2 separate regions of the Homo sapiens genome follow, and region 1 is linked to region 2. The links are contacts of gene promoters, found by promoter capture Hi-C in human tissues and cell types (Jung and others, 2019). All regions are on one chromosome and are shown on one strand. The core of a region is centred on a gene start or on the middle of the fragment in contact, and the rest is flanking DNA. Distances in the headings are between cores, read along the strand shown.

The links. The method cuts DNA at HindIII sites, captures the fragments that hold promoters and counts their contacts. A contact is called where the count stands out against the background at its distance.
Region 1: a fragment that was not itself captured here is called in contact with the fragment with the promoter of C5 in region 2 in 4 of the 25 tissues and cell types used here (dorsolateral prefrontal cortex, pancreas, psoas muscle and 1 more).

What each region holds. Positions count from the first base shown.
Region 1 is chr9:120,890,308-120,893,618 of GRCh38, forward strand. It overlaps a transcript of PHF19 not described here. Among named protein-coding and RNA genes, the nearest start is that of PHF19, 15 kb to the left of the region's middle. RefSeq lists an enhancer at 2,314-2,533. The HindIII fragment of the contact is 5,425 bases long and covers 1-3,311 here.
Region 2 is chr9:121,048,508-121,051,725 of GRCh38, forward strand. C5 (complement C5) reads right to left here and starts at 1,768. Exons shown (of 41, transcript NM_001735.3): 1 at 1,675-1,768. The coding sequence starts at 1,739. The HindIII fragment of the contact is 13,591 bases long and covers 1-3,218 here.

The sequences.
Region 1 (3,311 bases), core at 519-3,018, 160 kb before region 2:
TTTGACGTTTTCATTTTAATATGTGAAACCTGGCTACTTGTCTCAGGGAGAGTTTATGGAAAAAAAGCTTCCAGCTGGCTTTGGGCAGCCCATAAAAATGTACTGAAATGTCTAACTTTGACCAGTTAGAAATTAGGAGCTGTTGGGGGATGCAGGCCGGTGACGCCACTCGCCCTGGTGAGGCCACTGAATTTCAGTAATTAGCTCTCTGGGCAGGAGGACTCGCTCCTAATTCCTTCCTGGTTCCGAGTCAAAGGATGAGGCCCTGAATCTGTTAAAGAGAAACCACAGCTTTCAGATAACAGACAAACATGTCTTTAACACACGCAATCTTTGATTCAAATGATTTCAAAGGGCATGGGGGAGGGAAGGGTTTTTGTGAGCTTTAACCGAAGCCGCTCATCAGAATGTCAGCTCTCCAAATCCTATCCTTCCCTCAGCTCAAGTCTGACCTCCTCCAGGAAGCCCTCCTTGGTAACCCCAGCCCATCACAGGTTTGTTCATCCACACGACTCCTTGCTTTAAAACTCTCCAGAGGGTCTGCCTAACTTCATGGTCAAGTTCAGTCTTCTTAGTTTGGCATACAAGGCCCTTTGTGATCTGACACCTTCTCACCTGTGTAGCCTCTTCTCCTACTCTCCACCCCCACCCTTTAACCCAGGTGCGACAAACAACCTTCACCCCTCTCCCCGGAATTTGGGCCTCAGAGCCTTGGACTGTGTTTTTGCCTTGATGGGGATTTTCCTTCCCCTTCGTCATGTGGCTGGATGGTCCTTATTCCCAAAACTCACCCCAAGCCTCTCCTGCAGGGGTGGGGAGAGATTGAGCCCCCAGGGCTGGGTTAGGTATCCCTGCTCATGCCCCAGAGCGCCTGGGTTTCTGCTCATCACAGTTAGTGTAAGGATCCATTTACTCATCTGCCTCTCCCGCCCTCTTCCCTTCTCTCCCCTCCTCTCCCCTCCTTTCCCCTTCTTCTCCTCTCCTTCCCTCCCCTCCCCTCTCTGAGGAACTTGGTCCAGCTACAGTCAATATCTAGAGAAGGTATTGGCCTAGAGAACCTTGCTCAATCTTAAGCCCGCACACCTGCCGTACTTTGGGATCACCCCGGGAACCTTAACATGCTGATGCCTGTGTTCTTATCTTCAGAGACTCTGGTTTGATTGGCCTGGATGTGGCCTAGGCATGGGGTGAAGAGTGTGGGTTGAAAAGCTCCCCGGGTGGTTCAAGGTGCAGCCCAGGTGGAGCGCCACCATAATTTACAGCACACGACTCAAGACCCACCCAGCCACTTAGAGGAGCTGCACTCCAGGCACCTCGGGGAGTATAACCTTGAACTCGGAACCCCACTATATTTGCCATATTTGTTGTGTTGAAAGAAAACTAGTCATCTGTTTATCTGAGTCAGTAGCATTGAGCAGCTGTATAGTCCCCCACAGGCCCCACCCAGTCTTCCGTGCTTGTTAGGAGAGACGGAAGCATCACAGTCACCTGGTAGAAGGATGCCTGTCTGAGCCCCACCCCAAATCCAAGGAGCCAGACCAGGGACCCTGTGCTATAAACAAGTCTCCTGGTGATCCTTCTGCACACAAATGTGCCAGGGCTCAAAACATCCTAAAACAGGCTGCAAACCCCTGACGCCTTGCAGAGCCAGGTAGGAAAGTTCAAAGCAAAGAAAGGCCTCCAGGGGACCATGCGGGGACTGGAAAACGACTGGCTCTAGCAAATTCTTGTCCTTTGGGAATGTGGGCCCCATGTTGTCAAGTCCCTCTTTTTTAAAAAGAGAATGCCAAAAATCTGAATTTTTAAAAAGGTGAAACTTGTTTAAAGCTGACAACTAATTCAAGCCATTTAAGTACACAGCTCAGACCAAACAAAACTTACCTGGGACCTGAATTTAGCATCTATTACCAATGTTTGCGGCAAACCCCACACGTGGATGAAGCTAGAGGGTGGTGTGCTTGCCTGGCCTTGTCTCGGCTCTCTCTTTTTTGAGCTGTTTTCCTGCTATGGGACTTGGGCCAGCACGGAGTAGGAGTGGGGAGGCGGTGGGGAGCGGGTACAGGAAACGGCCCCTGAGACTTGTGCCGTACGTGCAATTGGGAGGCTGTTTGGGGACATTGTTCCTCACGTTTAACAGTGTTCTCTTCATGCCAACTCTCTAAAAAAATACCTCTCAGGTCTCAGGGCCTAATAGAGTTTTGATTTGCCTCAGCAATGGTGTGCCAGTGTCTTATGGACACTGAATTGCGTGGGATCAAGTTTTAGCTGCTAGAAAGGTCAGAGGGCAATTTGTGGCCTGTCCCCATGGCATATAGGACCTCAAGGTCCACACTTGTATACCTGTCATTCCTGGGTGCTTCTGACCTTTCCAACTTCTGTTTTTCGTTTGATGCTTGTCACATGACCACTCCTGTAAAATTTTATGCTTGTATATCAAATAAAGAAGTTAAGTGCTTTCTGAAATAAGGCATGCTATAAATAAATAAGCCCATAAAAATAGTAAGTGCTGAAAAAAAGGGTTATTGAATACATGACTACTTGAATGATTCATTTTGTGGTTGCACACAGGGCCTTGCACAGAGCAGGTGTTCAGGAAATGAGGGCAGGATGGTAGAGTGGAAAGCAGCAGTTTAGAGATGGAAAGACAATAGCCCTGCCATTTCCTAGCGACTGGGACCTTAGCCAAGCTGACTAACCTCTCTTAGCCTCAGTTTCCTCGTCTGTACAATGGGGACAATCTCAGTGCCACCTTATCAGAGTTGCTGGGAGGATTGAGTAAGATGATGTAAAGTGCCTAGCATGTAACAGGCACTTAATAAGTGGCAGCTGTGATTATTTCAACACCAGAAATACCCTCATCTATGAATGTCATTGTTAAATGACTTAGTAAAGGCAGTAATGTGTGCAACATGAGTGAGGACGCTCTCCCTTTGCTCAAGCCAGCTAGAGTGTGACAGAGAAACCACATGGATTCACTGGGTCAATAAAATGGGGAGGCCTTCCAGAAGCTCTCGATTCCCTCAGCTCCTTGTCCCAGGTCTCTGCTCCCCTCCACACCAGGGCCCCTCTGATTATAGCAGTGATGGCAGGTGGCTCCCTGTCTGAGTGTGGCTGCCCCATCACTCCCCTCTCAGCATGCTTATGTGCTAAAGACCCTGTCCTGTCTGCCCCCGTCATCCAATCTCTAGCCCTAGCCCTGTACATTCCCTTTCTGGAAGCCTCTGGCAGTTTTCTGCAAGCTTCCCAGCCCTGACTGATCCCTCTCCTGGTCATCACTTAAGTGAGCAAATTCATCTTTGAACGGTTCCTTG
Region 2 (3,218 bases), core at 518-3,017:
TCCCCACCCCAATCCTGGTCCATGGAAACATTGTCTTCCACAAAACCTGTCCCTAGTGCCAAAATGGTTGGGGACTGCTGGTCTATGTGATGGTAGCCGTCAAGCAAAAATACATAGTGTTTAGAAGCCCCTAAAAGAATATTCTGGAACCACCCTTTATAAAGATTTTGGTTCTTATTGACTTATCAGTAGCATAATCTATCCATATAAATAATTTCATAGTTTTCTTTGTCTTTCAATTGCTGCAGAGGAGCAGGAGCTTGCAGAGAGGCAAGAATGTTATTTTGGCCTCTATCTGGAATGCTCTTTCCTCAAATATTTGCATGGTTTGCTTCCTCACTTCCTTCAGGCTCTGTTTGAGTGCAGCCTCCTTAAGAGAACCTTTCCTGGCCACATTTTAAAATAGTGCCCCATAATTATTTTTTAATTCTCATACTCTGCTTTATTTTTTTCTTCATAATACTACCTACCTGACCTTACACATTCTTTCATTGGTTCATTCATTCATTACTTGCTTCTCCCACTAGAATGCAAGCTCTAGGAATTGTCTTACCGTTTGCTATATCTGCAGTGCCTATCATATGTTTAGATGCTCAATAAATATTTGTTGAATCAATCAATCAACCAATTAATTAAAGTGATTGATTGCCATGTTGTAAATGGTACACTCTGACTTCTTCAGAGAAAGTGAGGAAATAATTTTTATTAAGGGCTAGTAGAAAGAATTCAGAATAAGTCTGGACAAGAATCATGGAACCCAGGTCCTAGCCCTAGTTCTGCCACCAATTTGAAGTCACTTAATTTCAGTCTCTCTAAGCCTTAGCTGCTCGTCTTTCAAAAAGAATAAAGGCAGGATGCTAAGGTAGTTGAGTGCTTGTGGCCATGTAAAAAGATCACAGATCAGAAATACGAGGGTGCTAAAAAAGAATGACATCCTAAGTATGTGTTTATATATAATATATTTACATGTATACATTTATGACAAAATGAAAAAAATTGAAGTGATAAACAGGAGACCTTAATAAAAATCCTGTTTCTCTCTCTCTAGAACTGTGACCTTTGGTCAGTCACTTCCCTTATCTGGACTTATTCTCATATATAAAATGAATAGGTTTGATTAGATGATCTGCAGTTACTTTTCAGTATTAAAATATTTCTAGATATAAGATCATTATTTTTAAAACATTACTTAAAATGCATATTATCTCAATAATGACACTAAAAATTGTGAAAAGTCAGCTCATAAATGTATGGTAGAAGTCACTACAACAACAGATTTTCAGATCACAGTATTAGATTGACTCCTAAATAACCCTGGTTTAACTGTGTATAGTCTATGAAAAACACAAAGAAAACTAAACACCAAGTTAAAATAAGCAAAAAATGTCAAGAAAGTTTATTATCTGGAGTTTCTTTTGTGCTTTTTTGAAGAGGAATTTGAATAATCACTTAACGTAAATTTTAATAAATAACAATTCCATAAAAGCTGTCATGTTGTTAGCTACTCATCAAATCAAAATGCTTCCATGACTTTCTCATTCAGAGATGATACTATTCACTTGCTGTTCTCAGAAGTAGCAAGTTATTTTCAAGTTAACAGAATCTGTTAAATTTAACTCTTCATTCGTCATAACTAAGATGCATTGAAAAATGAAGATAGCTTGTTTTACTTACGTTTGCTCCTGTCCCCAGGTTTTCCCCAGGAAGATTAAAAAACAAAGTATTCCCAAAAGGCCCATGGTTGGAGGTAGCAGGAAACCACGGATATAACACTTTTGAGGATAGTCTCCTTTTAAATAAACTGAACTTGAAGAATTCAGATAATCTGGTTAATTATTAATGTCAGAAAGGTGAACCTCTAAGTGGGAAAACTAGAATTGGAACTAAAACACCCTTTCATGCCCAGGAATACAGATAGGGAGTACTTTACAGGAACTTACACCCAGGGAATTTATTTTTATTAATACAAATAAAGGGACCCTAAAATGGGAATTTGGCACTATGAAGAGTGGCTCAAAGCTAGAAACCAGTAAGCCCATTGCTTTGGCCTTTCTTCTCTTGCCCAGGGCATTTGCTTTGATGTTGCATCATCTGCAAGCATACATCTGGCAGGTCCACTCTAATACTGATGAAGACCCACCTGGACTCAGTTTCACACTGAAATGATTTTAGAAGGGGCCTGGTTTAGACAGGGCTCACAAGATGATCTTTTTTTGGTGACCTGAATGGCAGTGTCCTTGGTGCTGCAAATGGTCTGAGCATAACCTAGCTCTGCAAAGGAGGTCTAGGGAATTGTTCCTTGGTCTGTCTCAGTCTAGAGAACACTAGGTGGAGGAAAGTTGTGACTGGCAATGAAAACGCCATGTGGAGGATGCTGTCGTCATTCTCTAAGTATTGGAGAATAGATATTCTCCAATATTTATTAAGGCATATACCACTCGTTCAAAGTTTGTCTTTATTCAGATATAGAATATCTTTCTTTTAAAGAAAACACATGTTATACTTTTCAGTGAGGATTTTAATAATTTTAATATAAGAGCTCCAGAAAAACAAAGCTTCCTATAACAATTGAGTCTAGTAATTAATTCACAATATACTAAAATTTTATCTTTATACTTTTTTTTTTTTTTTTGGAGACAGAGTCTCTTTCTGTCGCCCAGGCTGGAGTCTAGTGGCACTATCTTGGCTCAGGGCAACCTCTGCCTCCCAGGTTCAAGGCATTCTCCTGCCTCAGCCTCCCAAGTAGCTGGGACTACAGGCATGTCCCATCACATCCAGCTAATTTTTTGTATTTTTAGTAGAGGTAGGGTTTCACCGTGTTGGCCAGGCTGGTCTCGAACTCCTGACCTCAGGTGATCCACCCACCTTGGCCTCCCAAAGTACTGGGATTACAGGCATGAGCCACTGTGCCTGGCTGATTTTTAATTAAGTTAATTTTTATGATGTTTTATGTTCATTAGAATTTTTTTATTTACTACCTTCTCTTTTTTAGTACTATTTTTACCTTAATATATAATATGTACTCTTCTTTAAAATAATAAAACAGATGTCTCTAAACATATTTCTATAATGAGATATTTATGATATATAAATGAGATATTTATGGTCACATTGGCATTCTTTGCTTTGAATTAATAAATAATAAACCAAAAATATTTATAAACACTTTAATGCTGAATTCACTAGGGAAAAAAGGAGCACAAAGGGAAATTTGATAT